5 separate regions of the Homo sapiens genome follow, and all the other regions are linked to region 2. The links are contacts of gene promoters, found by promoter capture Hi-C in human tissues and cell types (Jung and others, 2019). All regions are on one chromosome and are shown on one strand. The core of a region is centred on a gene start or on the middle of the fragment in contact, and the rest is flanking DNA. Distances in the headings are between cores, read along the strand shown. Region 1 overlaps DNAAF9 (dynein axonemal assembly factor 9). Region 2 holds the start of LZTS3 (leucine zipper tumor suppressor family member 3). Region 3 holds the start of GNRH2 (gonadotropin releasing hormone 2). Region 4 overlaps DNAAF9 (dynein axonemal assembly factor 9). Region 5 overlaps DNAAF9 (dynein axonemal assembly factor 9).

Region 1 (4,689 bases), core at 1,123-3,622, 150 kb before region 2:
CCCACTCCCAGGAACATTTGGCAGGGTCTGGAGAAATTTTTGATTATCACAACTGGAATGCTACCAACATCTAGTGGGTAGGGATGCTGGTTAGCAGCCAGGGGTGCTGCCGAACATCCTACAATGCACAGGACAAACCCCCACAGCAAAGAATTATCCAGTCCTAAATGCCAAGGTGGAAAAACCACCTTAGGTGGTTCCCTGAAATGAACCAGACTGGTTTTTCTAGGGACCTTCGTGGCAGTCCATTCTGGCAGAGAAAAACCCAGCCCTTCCTCAGTCTGGTCATCTCTCTTCTCCCGCTGAGGTCTCCTACCCGGAGGTTCCAGTAATAGACCAGCCTTCAGCAGGTCTAGTGAAAAGACGATATGAAACTACAGTATGATTGGTCCCTGGGAAAGCAGCAAGTGGGTATGAGAACACTGAAGGAATTCCTGCTCTGTAGGTAGCTGTTCCTGCACATAGAGGAGTCAAGGAGTCTACACAGTTTTATTCTGTTTGGTTACAAACAGGGAGGGGCAGTCTCTTGAGCAGAATTCAGAGGAGCCGACTTTCCTTAAGGTGATTTAACAAAAGCAAAGTATAAGTCAAACCAGGGATATGACTTTTTTTTTTTTTTTTTTGAGACAGGGTCCCACTCTGTCACCCAGGCTGGAGTACAGTGACACAGTCTTGGCTCACTGCAGCCTCTTCTGCCTCCCAGGCTCAAGTGATCCTCCAGCCTCAGGCTCCTAAATAGCTGAGAATACAGGCACACACCACCATTTCTGGATAATTTTATTTTTATTTATTTTTATTTTTTGTCGAGATGGGGTTAAGTCATGTTGCCCAGGCTGGTCTCAAATTCCTGGGCTCAAGCGATCTGCCCATCTCAGCCTCCCAAAGTGCTGGGATTACAAGCCTGAGCCACTATGCCTGGCCCAGGCATGTGACTTTTAAAAGGTTTAGAAATCAGTGGGTTATATTTTTGCCTTTTTTCATTCTGTTTAAAAATCAGTTTCTTAGGGGCTGTCATTTATGTGCATGCATCTTTTGACAAAAACCTCATGATGCTGTAATGTTAACCATTATTTTTTGTTTTTAAAGTAGGCTATTGTCCCAGATATATGCTGCTGTTATTGAGGCTGTTTTGGCTGGCATTGCATGTTATGCTAAAACTTCCAGTCTAACAAAGGTAATTTAAATACCATGTTTCCCTTTCTGTAATTATTATTTTAATGTAAAACATTCTATCCATGTGTTTCTTCTTTGGACATCTTGTAGTACTCACTTTTGTGCGAGCTTGGGCCTCTTTGACACCAGGCAGAGAGAAGCCCTGAGAGCACTGAGCTTCTGCTGCCTGTGACTGTGCTGCTGTTGTCTTATGGATGACAACTAATCGGTGCTTCTTTGTAGACATCTGGTTGTGTTAAGGAAAAATCATTCTGTAGCACATTGTTTTGTTGAATAGCTTAAACAAAAGTCTTTTAAAAGCTAAAAAAAAAAAACCAAAAAGACAACTTTAGATTATTCTACTGTGAAATCTAATAAAGTTTGGTAAGTTTGATTTCCTATAACTCAGTGTTTAAAAAAAATAGCTAAAGATTAGAAAATCTGACTTGCTTTTCCTAGACAAGCACATGTGTTCCCGTTCTCTGACCATTATCTTCCTTGCTGTTTTGCGGTTAACCTGCCCTGCTGAGTTGGATTCCTATATCTGACCCAGTAAGGAGATGAGAAGAGTCAGCTTGATGCCTCCCAAATGCCAATAGGACCTTTTCTGAAGGAAGCCATTTGACATTGGAAAGGTTGTGTATGATGTAGATATCAGAGAGACTGTAGCTGTAGTCACCAGCTCCTTGCCATCTCCCCTCCTCACTGAACTTGTATCCCTGGTACTGACTCCGGATTTCTCAGCCCTTTAGCCACTACATGCAGAAGGCTTATCCAAAGCAGTGGGGTGTCCTTCAATATCAGTTCTCACATCTTTGTTTTTTAACTGATCTTTTGTAACTCTTGCTATTTGGATATTCTTAGCATCTGGCTAAAACTCTGAGGGCAGAGGTTCCTTCCCAAGAGCCAAGGAAGAGGGGAGGAGAAAGCACTTTTACAGACCTCACATTCCACTGCTGTCATCACAGCTGGTCACTTCTCTGGATCCAGCACGTCAGGTTCCAGTGCACACCTGCCTGAATGCAGTTTTGTCCTGTAAACCTAGCCTGGAGAAAGCAGGCCCTTCTTTCCCTTAACATGATACTTTCACTTTAATCTATTCATGCCTACCAAGTAGTCACATAGATGGGAAGGACACACTGTAGGGCATGGTGTGATCCTGGACAAGTGTTAGGAGGGCCCTTCCATCAGTGATATGTGTACTTTTTCCTGCTGTGAAAGCTAATTGTCGCTGTCTTATTATTTTACAGGCCAAGGAGGTAGCAGAGCAAACTCTGGGATCTGGGTTAGATTCCTTTGAGTTGATTCCGTTTAAGGCAGCCCTGCGGTAAGCAATGGCTGATATTTTTTATAAGGAATTTTTTTTCTTCGTTTTGGAATATTCTTTTTTCCCTTATAATTTAGATTTCATCTCCCCTTTGAGAAATGTTTCAGTAAAATAATGGGATGTGTGAAGGAGAATCATTCATGATTCAGCCTTCACTTAGAAGCCAAAGAGCCAAAGATGCAGGAACTGTTTGAGAAAGTCACACACATGTTCTGAGGTTAGAATGCAGGGCAGATTAACACCAGCATCACAGGAGATTTGACAAGCCTGGGTTCCAAGGCTAGAAAGGCAAAGCTGGGTACCTGAATGGTGAGGTTTCTAGGGGCAGAGGGCCCTGGGCACAGGAAGATAGTCACTGCTTAGAAGAAACTTGCACTGGGCCTCATCTGTCTCTTGAATGACAGAAACCCTGAGCCTGGCCGTGTCCTGGGGTCTGCATCATCTGAGAATCTGGTGATTTTTCCATCACATCTCCCAGCATGTCACGGTGGTTGTTATCCATAGCTAAATCTTCATGAACCCAGTCCACTTAACCACTGTTTCACGTGAGGACCATTATGTGCACTTTTATACAAAGGATACAAAAGACACCAATACTGGGGAATTTATTTAAGAATACTTCTAGGATGTGTCCTGTGATGCCTCAGGTCTATGTCCCACATTTTCTTAAATCTATAGTCCTGTGTAATAAGAGAGAGTATTTGAAAGATTAGTCAATTAATTGGTCTAACAAAAAGAATTCTATTTCTGCAGCCCCAGGAGTGGAAGAAAGAGCCAGAACTCTGTGGTGCAGGGCTTTAGACTTGCTTCAGGTCTTCTTTCCCCTGGGTCTTCTGGATCTTGCTGCCCTGGCCATGAAAGGGAAAGGATAAAGGAAGTTTGTTCCCTTAAGACCTTGTGCTGCCCTGTGCTATCTGTTTCTGGCCAACCTGAATTTGAGAACGCTTCTTCAGTTTGCATCTGTGTGACCTTGGGCAAGATAGGAACTGTCTGTATCTGCTCCTTCAGCTACCCACCTTGTAAAGCAGTTGGGCACATAGATGTTAGCTGCTGTCACAGTGGGGTATTCTCTTACCATCAATATGGCTGGCATAGTCATTCTACTTCTCCTTTACTTGGGCCCTTGCCTAGGCCACTCAGCCTCCCCAGAGCAGGCCCCCTCTCAGTCCCAAGGCCTCCTAGGCCTAGGTGTCTGCCCTAGCTGGAGAAAGGCACAAGAAGAAAACACCAGTCAATGGGAGAAAAGTCCCCCAGGCCAGTCTTCCACCTAGAGCCCCTCCCCTTTCTCACCACAAAGATTGCTTCACTGAGGGCGGGGCGCAGTGGCTCACGCCTGTAATCTTAACACTTTGGGAGGCCAAGACAGGCGATCACTTGAGGTCAGGAGTTCAAGACCATCCTGACCAACATGGCAAAACCCCGCCTTCATTAAAAATGCAAAAATTAGCCAGGCATGATGGTACACACCTGTAGTCCCAGCTATTGGGGAGGCTGAAGCAGGAGAATCGCTTGAACCCAGGAGGTGGAGGTTGCAGTGAGTCGAGATTGCGCCACTGCACTCCAGCCTGGGTGACAGAATGAGACTCTGTCTCAAAAAAAAAAAAAAAAAAAAAAAAAGATTACTTCACTGAGGACCCTCAAACTGCTTCAGGTTAGCAGATCTCTTTCTCCCAAGAGGGGAAGGAGTGGGAGCCATGAATGCAGACAGTAATTAGTGTGTAGCTATCTAGTATGTGTTAATGCAAGAGATTACACTTACACAAGTTAGAGTAAGCTGAAAGGGTTTTCTAGTTATTTCTCAACTCTGAAGGCCTCACCCATGGCTCCACAGCATTTGACTGTGAGTTGCAGAGACGTGGCCTCTGCTTGCGCTCAGAGCAGGGATGGAGGGTCATTCTCAGTCTGCAGTGAGCAGCAGTCCTCTCATGTCATTTTCTCCTGTTGTGGTCCAAGAGTCAAGACCGTCCTTAGGACTTGCACAGAGGCAGGGCTGTGATTAGAGTCAGATTCTGGCCTCATACCTGCTGGTGGTGTGGGACCCTGGGGAAAGTATCCAAAATAGGGTAAATCTGTGTAAAGCAAGGATGACACACACCTCACTGTGTGGCCTTGAGAATCCCAAGCAGGTACCCTGCACAGGTATCTGAGGAGCAGGAGCAGACTGATTTTTCTTTTGTTTTGTTTCTGGTCTACAGCTCCAAGATGACTTT
Region 2 (4,750 bases), core at 714-3,213:
TCCGTAATGGTGAAGAAAAACTTGATATAGTCTCCCAGGGTGCAGAGAAAACAAACAGATTTATTTGACATTGGTGATCCAATGTGATAGTTTTAGAGGAGAGGAAAGAAAAAAACCCAAATCTTTTCACAGAATGGACAGGAAGAAAACTTTTCTAAGCTACAAAGAAGACCTCTTTTGTTTCTGGAAAATTAATAGATAAGGCCCATATTGATTTATACTGGCAAAATGTTTGACTTTTGAGGGTAAAGAAAAACCCTTGCAAGCACCAAGCAAACTGCTGACCTTAAACAGACAAACCCAGCTTTGCATTTTCAGTGCCAGAAGACAATGAAATAAAGACAAGAGTTTTGAGGGGGAAAGCTTGAGACTCAAGAATCCTATAAACAGGAAATCATTATAAAGGCATTCTCACCTAAGGCAAAGGCTTAGGAAATACAACATTCCAGAGTCCTCCCTGAAATCACCAGTCATGTGAGAGATGGGTCCAAATGAGGAATAGAAAAATTAGAGCACAAAAAACCGGCAGTAACATTGAAACCAATTAAACAGAGTTGGCAAAAGCCAAAAACAAGGATTGAAAAAGAATGTTGTGGCTTAAAAAAAAAGTGTAAACAAAAGTTAGGTCTGTCGTCCTGATTAAGTGGACAAATATAAGTAGTGAGGGCGGCAGGTAGGAGGCAGAAAAGCACACAAAATTTCTCATGGGGGAATATAAAAACGAATTATTTGTCACTGACTTTACTAATGTGTGAAATGTAAACTATTTTCATTTGATAAATCTAAAGGCAGCCGCGAGAAGAATTAAAAATACTTTCTGCCTTGAAAATCACGATAGAAGATAAAAGCAAATGTGGGAAAATTCAGAAAACAGGAATAAATAAAAACTATAGAATACGAAGTCGTAAGACCAAACACAACACCTATAAACAGCAGAGACGTAATGCGTTAAATCCCAGCCAGAGCAGAGGCGCTGCAGTTCTTAGGGCAGACCCTGGTGCCTCCAGGCTTTTGCTAGTGCTAAACTCTCGGCTAGGCTTGCCTCCCTACCCTATTCAAGGCTGAGGCCTCAATTCAAGGCCGACTCCCTCCTCCCGGCAGTCCTCCCGGGCCGCCCTAGGCTGAGTGAGCACTCCCCACAGTGAACGCTGCCCGCGCGGGCGAGGCCGGCGCTCCGGGTCCGGTACGAAGTCCCACCTCACTCCCTCTCACCCCGGGTTACAGCGTGTGGTCTGGGGCCACGCGTTACGCCAGGCGCGGGGCACAGGGTGAAAGCGTTCAATCCTGCTGGAGTGTAATGTGTATTTTTTCCCCGTCGCACCTTCCAGACGGTGATCCAGTGTGAGCAGCAAGTTTCAAATCGTCTCCGTTTGGTCACGAACGGAGTTTACTGCCCCTCGACGCCTCCCGCACGACAGCCCGTGGTCCTCGCGCCCGGGCGGGTCGTTGCTCGGCCGGGCGGATCCACCCGCGACGGCTCGTCCCGACCCCTCCCTAGCGGACTTGCAAGGTCTCAGGGCGTCCGCTGGGAGGCCGCGTCCCGAAGAGCTGGCGCGGGAGAGGAATGGGGCTCGGGGCTCCGAGTCGGGAGCCCCTTCCCCCAAGCAAGAGGGGCTCCTCCTCCTCTTCCTAGACGTGGGATTCAGGGAGGGCGCGGTTCCATTGGATTTGTTGCAGAGGAACGACTGGGCCTGAGCCCAAGCCCAAGGGCCTGGGGGGTAACGAGCGATGAGCAGAGGGGCTCGCGGCGGACTTGCTGCGCCCTAGAGAGGGTGAGGCTGAGGGGTCCCACGCGCGGGCGGGGCGCAGCGACGAAGGGGTTAAGGCGCCTCACCCCGCCCCAGCCCGGGCATTGGCTGCCCTGGGGGGCGTGGCCGGAGGGCGGGCTCGCGTTTGCCGCAGCCGCTGGTGGGCGGGGCTCGGGCGGGGAGCAGGAGGGGCGCGGAGCGGAGCCGGGCCCGCGCAGCGCGCCCCGCCGGGCGTGCTTCGGGCTGCGCCAGCAAGCGGGGCCGGTGGCGCCCGTGTCGGAGACCCCGCGCCGGACCCTGAGGCAGCGAGTAAGTGAGGCAGGCCCATCGTGGCATCCCTCCCGGCTCCGACCTGCCGCCGTGCCTGCTGCACTGCGCGGCATGTCTGACCTGACCCGGACTGGGTAGGGGGCGCGTCCCGCTGCTAGGGTCCCAAGGGGGAGGGGAGCGGAGAGGAGGCGGATGATGTCATGGATGCTTCGCCCGGCCTGGGGGGAGGTGGCGGCCAGAGGGGGTGCGGCTCGGATTATGTCACCTCTTCCCTCTGCGCCCCGCCCCCCGGGGCCACACGCGTTGGTGGGGAGCCTGGGGAGGTGCGGGCGGGGTTTCCCCCATCGCAGGGACTCCCAGGTCCTGTGGCCTGTGGCTGGGGTCTCTATCAGTTGGCTCTGCGGGCCGTGGGCTGCTGGTGAATGGCGACCCCCCCTCCCACCCCCAGCAGAAGCTCGTGTGTGCGCGCGTGTGTGTGCTCGGGGTGGAGGGGGCGCTCTCGGCCCCCTCAGTCCTGAAACACTGGCTTCATCAGAGCCAGTAGCTAGGTGATGGGCCCATTCCGCTGCCAGTGCTTAGGCCACCGAGGGAAGACGGATCTCCCCTCACTCATCCCAACCAAGAAGTTCTGGATATCTCTGCACCCCAAAAGCCCTGCAGTGCCCCCAGATCCCTTTCCTCCCTCAGTCCTGCTTCCTGGAAACCCCTCCTGCTCTCCCTGCCCGGATTCACTGCCTCTTTGCATTGCCCATAACTAGCATTCCCACAGGCATTTGCCCTGCATTTCCTTGGTGCAGGGCCCAGAGACCCCCAGGACTCTGCCCTCTGTGCTCCTGGGAAACCTATAGGCCAGCCCTGGGGAGGCCTCAGAGTGAAATCTCCCTGGGGTGTCCTCAGCCAAGTGCTCCAAGATGCCCCCTCTGGGGGGTGGAGATCAGGGATGCTGTCCTGAGGCCAGCCTTTGAACTGGTCTAGAAGCATGTAGGATGGGCACAGAGAGCTGGCAAGAGCTTGTGTGTGAAGTAGAGAGGGGCTCAGGTCAGGGTAGATAGAGGAGGGGCATCAGGAGAGTCCTTGGGGACCCTGCTGCAAGCTCTGCTCTGGTTCTGGGGACCAAGAGGAATACCAGGCATTTCACCCATCATACATTTACTTCTTAAAATGCCTGCAATGTAGGTGTGAGAACCCGAGGTGAAATAACCTGCATGAGGTTGCACCCCTAATCAGTCAAGCTGGGATTTACACTTGGAGCTGATGCTGCCAGAACTCTGTCTACTGCACTTGGTCTTGCTCATGGAAGGATTTGGACAGAGCAGGGGCAAGATCAGCTTTGCCCTTTAGAAGGAATCCCCTGGCAGCTGCCTGGGGGAGGGAGTGCAGGAGAAGAAAGTCCATTGAGGAGCCCCCAGCAGGGGTGCTGGATGGAGGGGCTGGCTAGAGATTTTTAGGAGATAGAATGGGCTGGGGTTGGGGCCTCTGAGACCCCAAGTGTTCCTAGCTTTGGGAGAGACACAGGTTGAGGGGTGGGTTGGAGGTACCTGTACATGTAACTGTCAGGTAGAGTCCGTTTGGCCCCCTCATGACGCTAATACTGTGTATAATGCCCCAGGCACTGAGGGCTGAGGTGACAGAGATCGAGGCAGTCAGGCAACAGGCTGTCATCTCAGGGTGGTGCACTGATGCCAGGAGGCTGCCTTTGCAGACCATGCTCAGTTACCTGGACTAGTTCAGGACCGTGACCTTTCCTCTCAGTTCAGTTCCTGCTTACCAGGGAAACATCCCCTTCCTTGTCCTGCCGGTGTCCTGCTGGGATTTTTTTTTTTTTTTTTTTGAGGGGGTATCTCACTCCGTTGCCCAGGCTGCTGGAGTGCAGTGGCGCAATATCACTGCAACCTCCACCTCCTGGGTTCAAGCGATTCTCATGCCTCAGCCTCCCGAGTAGCTGGGATTACAGACACGCACCACGACGCCCGGCTATCTGCTGGGATTTTGTGGAAAGAAGCTGCAGCAGCCAAAGCTTGGGAGAGACAAGGGGCAGGGCATGCTTGCAAGGGGTTAACCATGACAGGTTACAATTACGACAAGAAGCTCTTTAGGCAGTGAGGCTCCAGAGAGAGCTTCTGTGGGTTGATAGTCAAGCATTCCCCAGGTAGAGCACGGAGAAAGGAGGCTCAGGACAATGGTCCTGGGACCTTGTTTCCATCCACGACTCGAGGCATCTGAGACTTGCTAGGGACTACACACACTCTAGAGAAACAGTAGGGGAGAGTGGCCTATGACCAGCCCCAACCTATGCTCAGGTTGTCCTTTCCCGGATCTCAGAGAAGGTGTACTACATGTTTGTATTGCCCCTTATAGTTTACAAAGCACCTTCCCAAACATTATACCCTGTCACTCAAGGTCAACATGATCACTGTTGAGGTTTATTCCTGCCCAGATCCAGGTATCTGGTGCAGTCACCTTGCTATCCCCTTGCCTAGATCTTTCATCTCACTATTGGCAACTTCCCTCAGCATATTAACACACAGGTTTCTACCATGGTTAATTTTAAAATTAAAAAAGCCCTTGAATCTCAAACCTCCTTAAATAACTGTCTTCTCTTTTAGCAGGAACTCTGCCATGTCTTTCTCTGCACTCCTCTAGCCTTGTGGACTGCCTTTGTTTTGTACCACTTTTTTTGTTCTGTTTTGTTTATTTGTTTGAGAGGGAGTCTTGCTCTGTCACCTATGCTG
Region 3 (5,175 bases), core at 2,347-4,846, 130 kb after region 2:
GCTTGGCCAGGCTGGACTCGAACTCCCGACCTCAAGTGATACGCCCGCTTCGGCCTCCCATAGTACTGGGATTACAGGCGTGAACCACCGCTCCCAGCCACCCTTCTATACTTTAAATCAAGCCTCATCCATTCTCACTGCATTACTCCTAAGTGGTCTCCCTGCTTTTAAGTCGCACACCTGCTAATCCTAGCCTGAAATACTTAACCCTTCATGGCTTCATCACCTGTTATGCAAAATACAACCTCTTTGTGGAACGCAGGGTCCCTCCCACAGACCTGCTAGGTACCTGAACACTGTCCAATTACTCCGCTCACCTCCGGGTCTTTGCGCCTGACTGGCACTCTCCTCTCCAAATCCGGACCTGCCAACTGTAAGTCTCTGCACATAGCCAGCGCCCGCGTCGCGGTGCCCAGAATTCCCAGTGCCCCGCAAGCCGCGTCCCCGGCTGGAGTCCCACCCTCCGGAGACGTTGCCCACCTGCAGCTGCAGCACTTCCCGCTCCTTGCGCTGCGCCCAGGCCTGCACCTCTTCGGCCTTGCGGGCCTGCTCCAACGCCTGCCGCTGCTCCTGCTCCCGCTCCTCCTGCCGCAGCCTCGCTATCCTGTGAGGGTCAAAGGGCCGAGGCTGAGCGGGGCCCGGGCTTCTCCCAGGCCGGCCAGGCCGCGCCGCCCCGCCCCGCCTCCCGCCCCACGCACCGCAGCTCGTGCAGCCGCCGGTTCTCCGCCTGGTTCCAGGCCATCAGCTCGCGGTGCTCGGCGGCGTCCTTCAGGGCCTTGCGCTCCGCCAGAACCCCGGCTCGGGCCTCGTGCACCTTCCTCTGCACCTCGGACACGAACTCCATCCTGGGTGCAGACGCGCCAGGAATCAGCACCCTCTCCGCCCACTCCCACCGTCACCAGCGCGCGCGGGCGGCCACCTCCCCCCGGCCGCACACCTGAGGGCGCGCACGGTCTGGCGGTAGTGCTGGTAACGCTCCATCAGCACGAAGAACTCCGCAGGGTCCACCGCGGGCGGCATGTTCACTCGCTCGATCTTGGATTTGGCCAGCGGGTCGTGGCGGGTCTTGCGGCCGCGCGCTGGCAGCACCAGAGGGGCCCGGGGCCTGCACGGGGTCCCCGCGCCCAGGCGGCTCAGCGCGCGTAGCATGGCCGAGTCTCCTCACTGCGGCCGCGGTGCCGGGACGCCACCGTGCCCCGGAAGCGGCGCGGGGAACCTTGGGACCTGTAGTCCTCGGGCTGTCCCTCACGCCCCGCCCGGCCGTGTGGCCTCTGGAACCGAAGCGGCGACCCTGCGGACGTCCGCATCCCGCCCCCAGGCTCTGGCCCGGCCTTCCCGCCAGGGCCCGGGGCCATCCCTTAGTTACTCCCGCCCGCGGGGCCGGACCCGCGTCCCTCCAGCCCCCACGCAGGGAAGGGTCTCAGCGGGGAAGACAGGGAGGGGACGAAGGACAGAACTCGACGCAACAGCTTCGGAGAACCTCACACTTTATTGGAGGATGGCGGGGCGGGGCGGGGCTCTCGGGCTGCGGTCTGCGGAGGGAGAGGTGGCGGTCATGTCTCAGGACACTGGTCTCGTAACCGCCGAGCTGCCATCTTCCTGGTTCTCTCCCCTCTCGTCCCCCCCAGTCCCCATGTGGCCTCCCACAGCAGGACGCCCCCCGCCTCCCGTAGAAGCCTGAGGATCCAGCTAGTGTGGGGATCTCCAGCTCCCTTGGGCATGCCCTCTTGTCCACCCTAAACAAGCCTGACGCATAGAAACCTCAGCACATACACACAAATCAGGCGGTAAGACATTGCCTCATAGGAACTAACCACTTTCTTCTTTAGTTACCGGGCTCTCCTGATGCACTGTAAATGTTTGATTTGCAAAACAGTAGCAAACCATTTCCCCACGCCTGTCTTCTGCTATGGTCTTGGGGAGCTCTGCAGTCCCTGAGATGTTCCTAGTGCACATGTCAGTCACCACCTGGTCCTCTTGGCCCTGTTGTCTGTTTGAGTGAGGTTGCATCCCTCACCTCTTTCCACTGGCCTGGGGTCTGTCCACCTCAAGACAGTCATTGGCTTGTCAGGATGCCTGTGGGATCCCATGGCCACCACTGTCTTATAGAACAATTATCTCCTTCTAGTCTACTAGTGACTTTGGTCTTTAACCCAAGTGCTTTGTAAATTGTCTAGAATCCTCCTGGGAAATAGGAAGGATAGCAGACAGCACCCTGCTGTGTGCAGTAGGGGCACTGAGAAATGGCTGGGGGTGCTGTGGCAGGGGGCATCTCAGTGGTGTTTCATTCTCCCCACCCTCCCAGCACCCAACCCTAAGCCACAATGGCCTCTGATGACCAGTGGCTGGTCTTGATGCTGGGGACCTCTCACCCTACTCACCAGCAGTGTCCGTGCCAGGTGTCGCTTCCTGTGAAGGGACCACTGGGCCGTGGTCCTGCCCTCCCAGGGCATGCTGTCGTCCAGGGGAGCCAGGGCATCACTTGGGAGGCCATGGGCAGTCTGGACTGGGCTGCCTGCTGCAGTGTCCAGGGCCCTTCCTTAGAAGGGAACTGATGCTGTCCTCCCTACCCCGACCTCAGGCTCCAGGAGGGTGGGGGAGCCCCCGGCCATCACTTTCTTCCTCCCCATGAGGCTGGGAGACACCCACCTGGGGGCCTAAGGGCATTCTGGGGATCCTGGGCTGAGCTGAGGGCTCGCTTTCCTCCAGGGTACCAGCCATGGGACCAGTGCTGAGCCTCTGAGGGTCCAAGGTGGGCAGTCAGCAGCAGCAGGAGCAGGAGGCCTCGCCTGGAGCTGGCCATGGCTGCTCTAATGGACAGGGTACAGCATTCAAGGAGACTTACCTCACCCCCACATCCCCCTACTTCCTCCAGGGCCACTTTGGAAAACTGGCATCTCAGGGGCAGCTTTGGTATCTCCTTATGCCCTTCCCTCTCTGCCACCGCTCCTCATCCCAAGCATACAGGGGTCCAGATCCTGGGGGATCCTGGCCCAGCAGGGGATGATGCTCCAGGGGACGAGCCTTCTCCCTGAGCCTGGGGCACAGAGGCTACCTGCCTTGCCAGCTCTGAGGGCCCTCCCACTTGTCCAGGTCCATCCATCTTTCCTTCAAGGAGTTTCCAGAAGTGGAAGAAAGTTGGAGGGGAACAGAGACCTGAATTCAGGCCAATGGATGGGAGGATAGATGGATGGTCAGGGGAGTTCTCAATGTAGGCGTGTTTGGAGCACCAGTGCTAGGGAACCAGAGTTGCAGGCCTTCTGCCCTTTTCTCCGTGGCCTGCTGTATCTCTTCCATAGTAGTTGGGGATGTGGAATGGATGAGTGGTATTGATGGGGGCAAGTGCTTCTACCCCTTATCCCTCCCATGCCAGGGGCAACAAGCACAAGAATAGATGGTAGAGCTGTTGGGGAGAGGAGAGGAAAAGGGGACTTCTCTGGCATGGTTCAGGGGTGGAGGCACCTGGGAATGGGGAAGAGGAGCAGCACACCATACGCCCAGGATGAAACTTGGTCCAGGTGTCCTAGCCCTTAGGGAAGGCTCCCCACTCACCAAGGAAGAGCTGTGGATGAGATGGCTCCTTCAGGCAGCTGCAGGACCCTAGCCTGATGGCCCCAGGATTTATAGACCAGGCAGCTCCACCCCCAGACTCCAGTGACGTCTTCAGAGGGGAAGAGAGAAGCTCACCACCCAACCCGCTTCCCAGAGCATCCAGTCCATGAACATTCACCAGGCAGCTGCTGCCCTGAGGCCACCGACACATGCTCCCTCCCCACCACCTTCCCAGGAGCCTTCAGGCCCAGGACTCTTGCTTTAGGCTGGCCTATGTCCTGGTCTCACCTTCCCACTTCCCAGGCTGCATCTTCAAGCTCCTGATCTTGAGACCTAGAAAGCCCTCACAGCCTTCCCTGATCCCAAAAGAGAATTGTGTCCTGGGCAGGGGCAATGCCTGGGGGCTCCCCAACTCCCAGCTCAGGGCTTTCCCTGGTGGACAGTGGAAGCCTAAGAGTAGGGAGCCTGGCAGGCTGTTCAGAGGTACAGGGGAGGCTGTGACCACTCTCCCAGAGGGCTTCCGTTTGCTCACTGTAGAGTGGGTTGGGTGGGACAATTCACATCCACACACCTGGGAACCAGGGCTGGGTCACTCCAGATGGCTGGGTTTGGGTGGGGCAGTACCTACCCCGGAGTGGCTTCTCTCCTGGCGAAGAAGCGGGCCCATGAGATGGGGCCCAGCTGTTGGGCCAGTGCAGTCTCCCTAGGTAGGTAGAATAATTTTGTCCCTCAAGGCTCTAACCCCTCCCCAGTCATGGATTTGGACACAGCTAGCCTGGGCTGCTGGAAGTGGGCTCTTGCTTCCCAGTCTGCGTCAGCAGCTCAGCTTTCCTTGGCCAGCCATCAGCCTCTGGGGGTCAGAGGCCTGTTTACAGGGTTCATAGCCAATCTCCGCACTTGGGCTGAACAGCAAATGGGAGGGCCAGGGTCATTTGGAGAGCTGGTGCGTCAAATCCTGTGACAAAGATGGGGGAGGGGAGGCATAATGGGCATCAGTCAGCCCTAGACACCTGGACTTCAGCAGCCAAGGCAGGATGGGCACACCTGTGAACTTCCAGACTGACTTATTAGCAGGGACCGGAAATCAACGTGTGGCCCATTTGTTCAGTTAAATTGTTTTGGCTTAAATATGCGGACTTTGTTAACTGGGTGATTTTTAGGGAAACATTTGCTTGTGGTTTAGTGAAAATGAATCTGAGTTCGACGTACTAGTTTAGTTCTGGTTGGGGTTTACAGAATGCTTTCTTCAAAGATGCACCAAGGCTGGTGTACCTTTAAAAGGGGGATGGTTGCCTTTATTTATTCTGTAATTTGATTCCGGCTTTTCCTGAAAAATCTAAACCAGAGCCAAGCTTCCTGGGGAAAGCTCTGCTCCCTTTTTTTTCCGGCAACATACTTAGCTTTTAAGAAATGTTTGGTCCTTTCCAGACTAGAACTGTGGAACTCTTGTATCCCTCTCATTAGAACATAGAAAGCCATCTGTTCACCACGGAGCTCCAGTCCTCAGGATATGAAGTCACTGCAGCCAGGAGCTGCGTGTACTCAGGTGGGAAAGCAGAGGTTCAGAGGTGAATAAACACTCAGGTGCTGCAGGAGCACAGAGAGGCACAAACCCTGAGCAGG
Region 4 (4,701 bases), core at 178-2,677, 200 kb before region 2:
CTTCTAAAAGCAACTTTTATTTATTTATTTATTTTGAGACAGAGTCTCGCTCTATCACCCAGGCTGGAGTGCAGTGGTGTGATATTGGCTCACTGCAGCCTCTGCCTCCTGGTGGAGTCTCCTGCCTCAGCCTCCCGAGCAGCTGGGATTACAGGCACCCGCCACCATGCCTGGCTAATTTTTGTATTTTTAGTAGGAAAGGGATTTCACCATGTTGGCCAGGCTGGTCTTGAACTCCGCTTGCCTTGGCCTCACAGTGTTGGGATTATAGGCATGAGCCACCGCACCAGCCTAAAAGCAGCTTTTAAATAGGTTACGTATTCATCCCATTCTCATATGCTTTCCTCTTTTACCTGACTGTAAACTCTGTTAAACTTTGGTTCATAGTGATAACACCAGAGTTCTAAGAGATTTGGGGAATGCTTACTTTAGGTTTAGTAACTACTATGTTATGTCTCTTACGGGATCCTAATTCTTTGAGGCATGTTACATTTTACTGTAGAGTATAATACACACCAGAAGCCCTCAGTCTTCAGGTAATAGCCAACTCTCATTCCTCTGCAGGTGGTCTACGAATGACTCAGGGAAGGGCTCTTGGAGGGAGTGTGTGAGAAGGACCAATATGCTGAGAGATGAGAGGGGCCTCCATTCCACCTTTTGCTACCCTTTGACTCTTGTGCTTACCTAAAGAGTCAATAGTGATGAGGCTGCTACATCCTGTGTTCCCTGGAACACCCTGGGCCTTACAGGCATGGGGCTTAGAGTGGCTTAAAAGGTCAGACCCATGGAGTTTTATTTCAGGAGGCCACTCAGCTGTGTGGTCAGATGTGGTCAGTATTTATTGGGCTTATAAGATGTTTTTGTCAGGTGTGGTCTGTCACACTGTATTACCCTTTTGACGTTGTCCTACACCTGCTGCATCAGGTGTTCTCTGCCCCTATGCGTGTGCCTTTCTTACCTCTGACAGCATCTAGTTCCATCTTGTTAGGAGGCCTAATGGCTCTTGTTTCTGAGGAGCCATAGAATGGGGCCTCTGGTTTTCTTCTGGAAGTATGACTGCCTTTGTCCTCAGTTGTCAAACTGCTTTAATATTCTACTCCATCCCATGGCTCTTCCATTTACCTAGGTTTATTTGCATTCTTGGGATTGCTTTATTTACTTCACCCATGAGCATTGAAGACTATTCCTTAAATCTGTAAGCTGCTGATCTATTTATAGAAGCTCTTTCCACTGGCCTCTACTTCCTTCCTCCCAGTCTTTCCTGCGTACAAAGCTCACCACTGCACACAATAACTCTTCCTAAAGGGACAAGCAGTATCGTTGGGCCTGCAGTTGCCTTAGAGCCAGATGAGCCAACAGCTGAGAGCTTTAGACACTGATGTCTGAGGGACAACTAGTCACTGGCCATATTTGGTGCTGTTTCCCTGCCTCAGTGGCCTTAGGCTGTGGGGTTTCCATATGGTATTGACCTCTGCAGTGAAGTACTCAGCTATGTCTGGTCCCATAGATGTGACTATGTGAACACTATGCCTCAGTAGATGGAGGCTGTTCTTTGACTCGTTCTGCAACTGCATTGCCAGACCCAGAGGGCCATGGTAGGGGGAGTATTGTTTGGGGACTAGGAAATTCTTGCTGTCAACATTTGAAAGTTCTAAAGTCACTTTGAAGCTGTAAACCAAAAATAAAATTCTAAGCCCTCCAACCAATTGAATGGACCCCCTTGTTGGCCAAGGGCATTCCAAAGTAAACTTGAAAAACGAGTTCAAGCCAGGATAGGAAGTGGAGGTTGGCAGTGCCTCATTATGTCCTCTTCCTTTTGGAATTCAGGCATAACTGACCAACATTAACATTAAAACAGAGATCTTGGCCAGGTGCAGTGGCTCACACCTATAATCCTAGCACTTCAAGGCCAAGGTGACTGGATCACTTGAGCTTAGGAGTTCGAGACCAGCCTGGGCAACATGGCAAAACCCTGTCTCTACAAAAAAAAAATAAAAATTAGCCAGGCATGGTGGCGCTCACCTGTAGCCCCAGCTTCTTGTGGGGCTGAGGCAGGAGGATTGAGCCTGGGAGACAGAGGTTGCAGTGAACCTATATCATGCCACTGCACTCCAGCCTGGGTGACAGAGTGAAACCCTGTCAAAAAAAAAAAAAGAAAGAAAACAGATCTTAAGACCAACCAAATTGCTGTTGTATAGCAGTAAGGTACATCACATAGCAGATAGCAGACCCTGAAAGAAATCTAAGTATTTTATCCCAAAATATACTCCTTTGACATATTTTTAAATGGTGCTGCAAAGCTGTCTCTTGTCAGAGAAATCTACATTCTGTAGAGAATCCCTTTCACTTTCCAGGTCTTTTCCTGATCCAGGGGAGATCAACTAAGAATCTGGTACCTTTTTAAGTCTGATAAACATTTACCTTCTATTGTTTCTGAAGCCTGCTACCTGGAGGCTTTACTTGCATAATAAGAACCTTGGTCTCCACAACCGCTTATCTTAGCCCAGACATTCTGTTGATTCCAGGTCTGTATTTATTTTTATTTTTATTTTTTGAGACGGAGTCTCACTCTGTCGCCCAGTCTGGAGTGCAGTGGTGCAATCTCAGCTCACTGCAACCTCTGCCTCCCAGGTTCAAATGACTCTCCTGCCTCAGCCTCCTGAGTAGCTGGGATTACAGGTGCGCGCCACCACACCCGGCTAATTTTTGTGTTTTTGTTTTTAGTAGAGACGGGGTTTCACCATGTTGGTCAGGCTGGTCTCAAACTCCTGACCTCGTGATCCATCCGCCTCAGCCTCCCAAAGTGCTGGGATTACAGGCGTGAGCCACCGTGCCCAGCCCTGATTCCAGATCTTTAGGTAATAAAACTTAACTCTTTCAACCAATTGCCAGTCAGAAAATCTTTGAATCCACCTATATGACACGAAAGGACCCTTTCACTCCTGACCCCGACTTTCTGGACCAAACCAAATGTACACTTTACATGTGTTGGTTGATGTCTGCTGGTAACTTCTGTTTCCCTAAAAAGTCTAAAATCAAGCTGTTATCCAGCCATTTTGGGTACATGTTCTCAGGACCTCCTGAGGGTATGTCACAGGCATGTCCTTAAACTTGGCAAAATAAACTTCAAAATTGATTGAGACTTGTCTCAGATACTTTTTGGTTTACAAGGCACAGTGCTTAATTAAATAATTTTCAGTTTAGAGTTTTGTTACATTGTCTCTGAAGTAGTTTCAATGGTTTTACTAATTATGTGGGCAGAAAATATCTAAAAGAAATGTGTTTGACAGTCTTGTGTTTTGATTTTGTTTTTCTTACAGATGTAATTATATTGATTAAATCGGATAGCGTCCATCTGTACTGTAATCCTGTAAACTTTCGCTATCTCTTACCTTATGTGGCACATTGGAGAAATCTGCATTTCCACTGCATGACCGAAAATGAGGTAAGAAGAAAAGAGAAGACAGGCACCTAGAGACACTCTAAGAATACTCTTTAAGGAAAGTGTTGATCTGAAATAGGATCAGCAATCAAATTGCAGAGTGTGACTATATAAAAAAGATTATCTGTTTGAAGTGGAGAATTTCATATTTCGTTTTGAGGCTACCTTATAGATAAATTGTATGCCTGTGGAGACAAAAGGAGGCTGTTCAAATTGGGACCTAGTGGTAAGTTTATGAACTTAACTTTTTGCCTGCTTCTTCATCACCATCCTGAATCCCATCTCTTAGGGGATTAGTGCCTAGGGACTGCCCTGGGATTTTTTTTTTTTTCTGGGACGGAGTCTCACTCTGTCGCCCAGGCTGGAGTGCAGTGGCACAGTCTCGGCTCACTGCAACCTCGACCTCCCAGGTTCAAGCAATTCTCCTGTCTCAGCCTCCCGAGTAGCTGGGACAACAGGCACCTGGCTAATTTTTGTATTTTTAGTAGAGACGGAGTTTTGTTACATTGGTCAGACTGGTCTCAAACTCCTGACTTTAGGTGATCCGCCCACCTCAGCCTCCCAAAGTTCTGGGATTACAGGCGTGAGCCACCATGCCTGGCTCCCTGGGAGAATTTTTTAAGCTTTCTGACATTCCTGTGTTTGAATGTCTTGGTATCTGTTTTTCTTTCCCTTTGGGCCCTTTTCAGGGGTTTGACTGGAAATCAAGTTTGGATTTGAGATTTAGGATTTCATGAAAGTTGTGACCTGATACTGGTCAAGAACACTTCCTCCCATATGAGTATTTGGCGGAATTTTTTGGGGGAAAAGTGTTATCTCTTGCATTTAGGTTTCCTGATCCATTTCAGTTGATTTTTGGGTATAATATGAAATAAGGGCATAACAAGTCTTTCTGACTAGCAAATGAAAAAGGTTGGCTTTGGAAACACCTCCTTGGGTGCAGTCCTCTGTAAATGTCATTTGGGACAACTCTGGTTGACAAAATGCAGAGAAAATATGGGAATTTGTGTGATATCTCATCAGAGCTTATTTTTCTTTTGATTTGTCTCTTCAGTATGAAGATGAAGAAGCCGCAGAAGAATTTAAAATTACCAGCTTTGTGGACATGGTTCGAGACTGTAGTAGAATTGGCATTCCTTACAGCTCCCAAGGTGAGTATCTGACAGCAAGCCTTCTAGAACCTTGCTTAGGTGGTGTGTGAATTGAACGTCACTACTTTTCCTTTCATTGGGGGCATTCAGCTGAGAAACCCCTTCGTC
Region 5 (4,882 bases), core at 772-3,271, 140 kb before region 2:
TATTATTAGGATTTTAATTTACATTTCTCTTATTATTAGTGAACCGTCTTTATTTATTGGCCAAGCTATTATACTTCCCTTCTGTTAAATGCTTGTTCTTGTTTTTTGCTCATGTTTCTTTTAGATTGCCTTTTTCTTGTTTATTTTAGGAATTTTTTTTTTTTTCTTGAGACTAAGTCTCACTCTGTTGTCCAGGCTGGAGTGCAGTGGCGCAATCTCAGCTCACTGCAGCCTCTACCTCCCAGGTTCAAGCAATTCTCATGCCTCAGCCTCCCGAGTAGCTGGGACTACAGGCGTGCACCATCAGGCCCAGCTAATTTTTGTATTTTTAATAGAGACGGGGTTTCGCCATGTTGGCCAAGCTGGTCTTGAACTCCTGACCTCAGGTCATCTGCCCACCTCGGCCTCTCAAAGTGCTGGGATTACAGGCGTGACCCACTGCGCCTGGCCTATTTTAGGAATTCTTTCTTTCTTTCTTTCTTTCTTTCTTTCTTTCTTTCTTTCTTTCTTTCTTTCTTTTTCTTTCTCTTTCCTTTCTTTCTTTCCTTTTCTTTTTTCTTTTCTTTCTTTCCTTTCTTTCTCTTTCTTTCTCTCTCTCTCTCTCTGTTTCTCTCTCTTTCTCTCGATCATTAGTTCGTTTGTTCATCTTTCTTTTCTTTCTTGATGGAGTTTCACTCTTGTTGCCTGGGCTAGAGTGCAATGGCACGATCTTGGCTCACTGCAACCTCTGCCTCCCAGGTTTAAGCGATTCCCCTGCCTCAGCCTCCCGAGTAGCTGGGATTACAGACATGCACCACCATGCCCGGCTAATTTTGTGTTTTTAGTAGAGGTAGGGTTTCTCTATGTCGGTCAGGCTGGTCTCAATCTCCCGACTTCAGGTGATCTGCCTGCCACAGCCTCCCAAAGTTCTGGGATTACACGTGAGCCACTGCGCCCAGCCAGGAATTCTTTATAGATTTTGGATACTAATTCTTTGTCAATTCAGTATATTGCAAATATTTTCTTTCACCTGGTGGCTTGTCTTTTTATTTTATTTCTGATGCTTTTTCATGAATAAAAGTTCTTAGTTTTAATGTAATCAGGATAATTAATCATTTCCTATGTGATTCATATATTTTAGATCTATTGAGACTTTTCTGTTGAATTATAAAAATATAATTTTTCAAAGAATCCACCTGGATTGCTCTGTGAAAGTGATATGAGATAGAAGTCTAAGTTCATTTTTTAAATGTAGGTAGCCACCTGTCTCAGCAAAGTTATTGAAAAATCATTGTTTTCCCACTGATCGGCAGTGCCAGCTTTGTTATAAATCAAGTCTCTTTATGTGTGCATCTATTAATAGGCTCTCTGTTCTGTTCCATTGGGAAAGAAAATAACACATTGTCTTATTTTAGATAGATAACATATTTCTATATGGTGACTTAGTCTGCTTGGGATGCCATAACAAAATACCACAGAGTGAGTGGATTAACAGTAGGAATTTATTTCTCACAGTCTGGAGGCTGAGAAAATTATAACACTATACTAAAAGGCATTAAAAATGACATAAACACACATCCCATTCATGGACTGGAAAACTCAGGTTTACTTACTTGACATGGTAAAAATGACAATTCTCTCCAAAGTGATCTTTAAATTTAACATAATTTCAGGAAAAAAAAAACCAACAAGTTTTTTGAAAATCCTGAAAAGCCAACATAAAAATGTCAATAACTTTGAGCAAAGTGCTAAGAACAGCCAAGATACTCCTGAAGAAGAAAAACAAGGTGGGAACTTGCCTTATCACATTAGAGACTGAATGTTTGTGTCCTCTCCAAAATTCCAGTGTTGAAGCCTTAACCCCAAAAGTGATGTTATCTGGAGATGGGGCTTTTGGAAGGAAATAGGGGTTAGATGAGGTCATGAATGTGGGACAAGGTCTGTTGGGATGTGGTGCCCTTATAAGAGCTACCAGAGAGCTTAGCCCCTACCATGTATGCATGGAGGAGGAGTCATGTGGGCATGTGGCACCACACCTGGCTAATTTTTTTTTTTTTTTAGTAGAGATGGAGTTTCACCATGTTGGCTAGGCTGGTCTCAAACTCCAGGCCTCACGTGAAGCTCCCACCTCAGTCTCCCAAAGTGCTGGGATTACAGGCGTGAGCCACTGTACCTGGCTGGAGGGAGCCACCGCACCTGGCTGGAGGGACACTTTAAAAATGAAGGTTTTGGTCTGGCACGGTGGCTCACACCTGTAATCCCAGCACTTTGGAAGGCCGAGGCGGGCAGGTCACCTGAGGTCAGGAGTTCGAGACTAGCCTGGCCAGCGTGGTGAAACCCCATCTCTACTAAAAATACAAAAATTAGCTGGACCGTGGTGGCGCATGCCTGTAATCCCAGCTACTTGGGAGGCTGAGGCACAAGAATCACTTGAACCTGGGAGGCGGAGATTGCAGTGAGCAGAGATGGCACCACTGCACTCCAGCCAAGGCAACAGAGTGAGACTCCATCTCAAAAAAAAAAAAAAAAAAAGTAAAGTTTTGTACAGCACTGAGCATGAAGGAACTGTATAGCTGCATATTACTTGTAACATAGGTCACATTCAGGAACAGAATGTCAGGAGAAGTAAGCAAGTCACAGAAGAATACATGATTAGGATTTCATTTATATAAAAACACAGACAAAACTAAGTAATACACAGTTTACAAATACATTCAAGTGTGGTAAAACCATCCAGAATTCAGGATGCTGTTCCCCCTGGGTGGAAGAGAAGGGCTCTCATTGAGGAAGGACATCCAGGGGGTTTCAACGGTGCTAGTAATGCTCAATTTCTTAGGCCCAGTGGTGAGTTCATAGACATCTGGGTTTTGTAGTTGTTGCTTTAGTTTTTTTTTTTTTTTTTTTTTAAACCTTGTGTGTACATTTCACACACATTTATAGACACAGGATGAAAATCATCTAGCCATTGCATCATAAATTTCCCCAGCAGTGATAAATGTTCCCTCCTCACATAGACTGGGCTGTTGGAAGATTTTTATTTGTACAGCCAGTTTTCTGAAAGAGGAAAGCGAAATTCTTCTTTGGCATTTGCTTGGTATTTTGGTTTACCCTGAGGGCCCATCCCTCTTTTGTTGGACTTCCAGGGATACAGAGCTCAATCAAAGACAACCAAACTGCAGTCCTCCTGGTTTTGGGACAATAATGGGAAACTTCCTCTTATCCTGGGTTTTCAGACTTACAGAATGGAGAAGGAAGGACAGAGTTCATCCACTAAGGACACCAAGGATGGCACAAAGAGTCAGGGAGATCTCCTCAGGAGTTGGCTGCCCTGGCCCCTGTGAACCCCTGCAAAGGTATGGCCCTCAGACCACTGTCTGACAGTCAAGAGTCCAGAGCAGATACCAGAAGGGTTATTGCTTCAAGCAGATGAGGATCTGAGACCAGAGCACAGGCACTGGGCCACCCAGTAAGTCACTTCACTTATCTCATGTGTGCTCTGAGAATAATGGCAGAGTTACTGCTCATAGAGCCAGGCTAAGGGGCAGCTGCGATCACAGGACAGATCACAGGACAGTACTGAAATCAGATCCTGTTTACTGAGACCTTGCCTTGGCTCATGCCCCATAATGAGCTCTTCCAGCACTGTCTTGTGAATTTGTCTTCCTCTTTTCCATTTTGTTTTGAGGCTTCAGAGTCTAGTGGGAGAGGAAATGCTGGAGATGACCTCGCTCATCCTTTCCCATCTTCCTATTGAGTAAATGGAATGTGCCAGCTTCTCCAATCTGTGCTTTTTTCTGGAAGCTTCAGGATTTTGAGCTTTGTCCAGGAGGCCTTTCAAGTGGCACTGGACTTGTTTCTAAAAAGGTTCACTTCAAAAGTACAAATGTAGAGGGATACCCAGGACAGGGAAGGGTGCAGGTACTAACCACTCAGCAGCAGGAGCAGTTTCTACCTCGTGACACCTATGGAGCCCTCTTATCTCTGGAAACAGTAAGTAGAGTCATCTTGTGGCAGGAGTTGGTGGGGTTGTGGTTTTAGGAGAGTGTTGAAGGTCTGGGATGAGCTCTGTGGGCTGATGGAAGGAGTGGGGAGACAGCAGTGAACAGGCTACGGGGCAGCACTGTGGCCTGTTGTGGTTGAGGGAGCAGAGAAGGCACATCTACAGATTCACCACAGCTGGGCTTTGGACAGGGGAGAATTGAAAGAAAAAAAACATGAGAGAACTGAAGGCACCAGCATGGTATAGTGTCTTTGGCATCAGACAAACCTGTGTTCTGTACCTGGCTCCACCACCAAGTAATGCTGTGATTTTGGGGGAAATCTCTCTAAGCTTGAGTTTTCTCATCTGTCCTATGAGAAAAAATAATACCACCTGTTACAATTGTGAAAACAGAAAACTATAATGTATGACATGTGTGGTGCTTAGTAAATACTGCGTGAAACCTGTTCCCATTCCTTTCTTTTAACAGAACAAAGATTAAAGGTTAAGTCCTGTCCCAGAGGATCTGCCCTTGATGTGGATGAGAAGAATATCAGAAATTTCTGAGCAATAGGGGAAAATGCGAATACCAATGACTGTGAAGGCTCAGTGACATCAGAGGATGGGGTGTGGGGAGGGAAACAGCTAAAAGGGGGATGGGGTGCTGGAGTCAGAGAGTAGTTGCTGGGCTGGAGATTTCAGAAGTCATGACATTCTGGGTGCAGCTTTACTGCTCTAAGAAGGAATGGGAGTGTTGGCATTGGAAGGGAAGACTGAGCACATTCAGAGTGATTTGAAATATGGCATGGTCAGGAGGGCAGTAGGTGTGAGCAGTAGAGGGAGGGGCTTGTGTCTCTAGGGGAATGAAAGTAACATGCTGTGGTGTTGGGGAGACTGGCCTGGGAGCAGCATGGAGGAACTTTA

Evidence for each region. Contacts are between HindIII fragments. The study calls those that stand out against the background at their distance.
Region 1: a fragment that was not itself captured here is called in contact with the fragment with the promoter of LZTS3 in region 2 in 2 of the 25 tissues and cell types used here (dorsolateral prefrontal cortex and hippocampus).
Region 3: a contact is called between the fragment with the promoter of GNRH2 here and the fragment with the promoter of LZTS3 in region 2, in 5 of the 25 tissues and cell types used here (IMR-90 fibroblasts, dorsolateral prefrontal cortex, heart left ventricle and 2 more).
Region 4: a contact is called between a fragment that was not itself captured here and the fragment with the promoter of LZTS3 in region 2, in 2 of the 25 tissues and cell types used here (IMR-90 fibroblasts and hippocampus).
Region 5: a fragment that was not itself captured here is called in contact with the fragment with the promoter of LZTS3 in region 2 in 3 of the 25 tissues and cell types used here (H1 embryonic stem cells, dorsolateral prefrontal cortex and mesendoderm cells).

The regions. Positions count from the first base shown.
Region 1 is chr20:3,322,682-3,327,370 of GRCh38, reverse strand. It overlaps DNAAF9 (dynein axonemal assembly factor 9), which reads left to right. Exons shown (of 37, transcript NM_001009984.3): 13 at 1,087-1,174; 14 at 2,403-2,479; 15 at 4,675-4,689. Among named protein-coding and RNA genes, the nearest start is that of DNAAF9, 83 kb to the left of the region's middle. The HindIII fragment of the contact is 9,834 bases long and covers 1-4,689 here.
Region 2 is chr20:3,170,762-3,175,511 of GRCh38, reverse strand. LZTS3 (leucine zipper tumor suppressor family member 3) reads left to right here and starts at 1,963. Exons shown (of 5, transcript NM_001365618.1): 1 at 1,963-2,057. LOC107985414 (a long non-coding RNA gene) reads right to left here and starts at 1,822. Exons shown (of 2, transcript XR_001754477.2): 1 at 1,322-1,822. RefSeq lists a silencer at 1,740-2,079. The HindIII fragment of the contact is 8,589 bases long and covers 1-4,750 here.
Region 3 is chr20:3,042,043-3,047,217 of GRCh38, reverse strand. It overlaps GNRH2 (gonadotropin releasing hormone 2), which reads right to left and starts at 3,596. Exons shown (of 4, transcript NM_178331.2): 1 at 3,553-3,596; 2 at 2,650-2,810; 3 at 2,382-2,518; 4 at 1,471-1,532. The coding sequence starts at 2,803. The coding sequence ends at 1,482. It overlaps MRPS26 (mitochondrial ribosomal protein S26), which reads right to left and starts at 1,166. Exons shown (of 4, transcript NM_030811.4): 1 at 938-1,166; 2 at 699-845; 3 at 481-604. The coding sequence starts at 1,149. RefSeq lists enhancers at 225-284, 1,625-1,684 and a silencer at 655-1,524. The HindIII fragment of the contact is 17,170 bases long and covers 1-5,175 here.
Region 4 is chr20:3,374,922-3,379,622 of GRCh38, reverse strand. DNAAF9 (dynein axonemal assembly factor 9) reads left to right here. Exons shown (of 37, transcript NM_001009984.3): 4 at 3,321-3,445; 5 at 4,497-4,593. Among named protein-coding and RNA genes, the nearest start is that of DNAAF9, 30 kb to the left of the region's middle. The HindIII fragment of the contact is 5,967 bases long and covers 1-4,410 here.
Region 5 is chr20:3,305,971-3,310,852 of GRCh38, reverse strand. All of the region lies in intron 20 of DNAAF9 (dynein axonemal assembly factor 9), which reads left to right. Among named protein-coding and RNA genes, the nearest start is that of SLC4A11, 69 kb to the right of the region's middle. The HindIII fragment of the contact is 8,715 bases long and covers 1-4,882 here.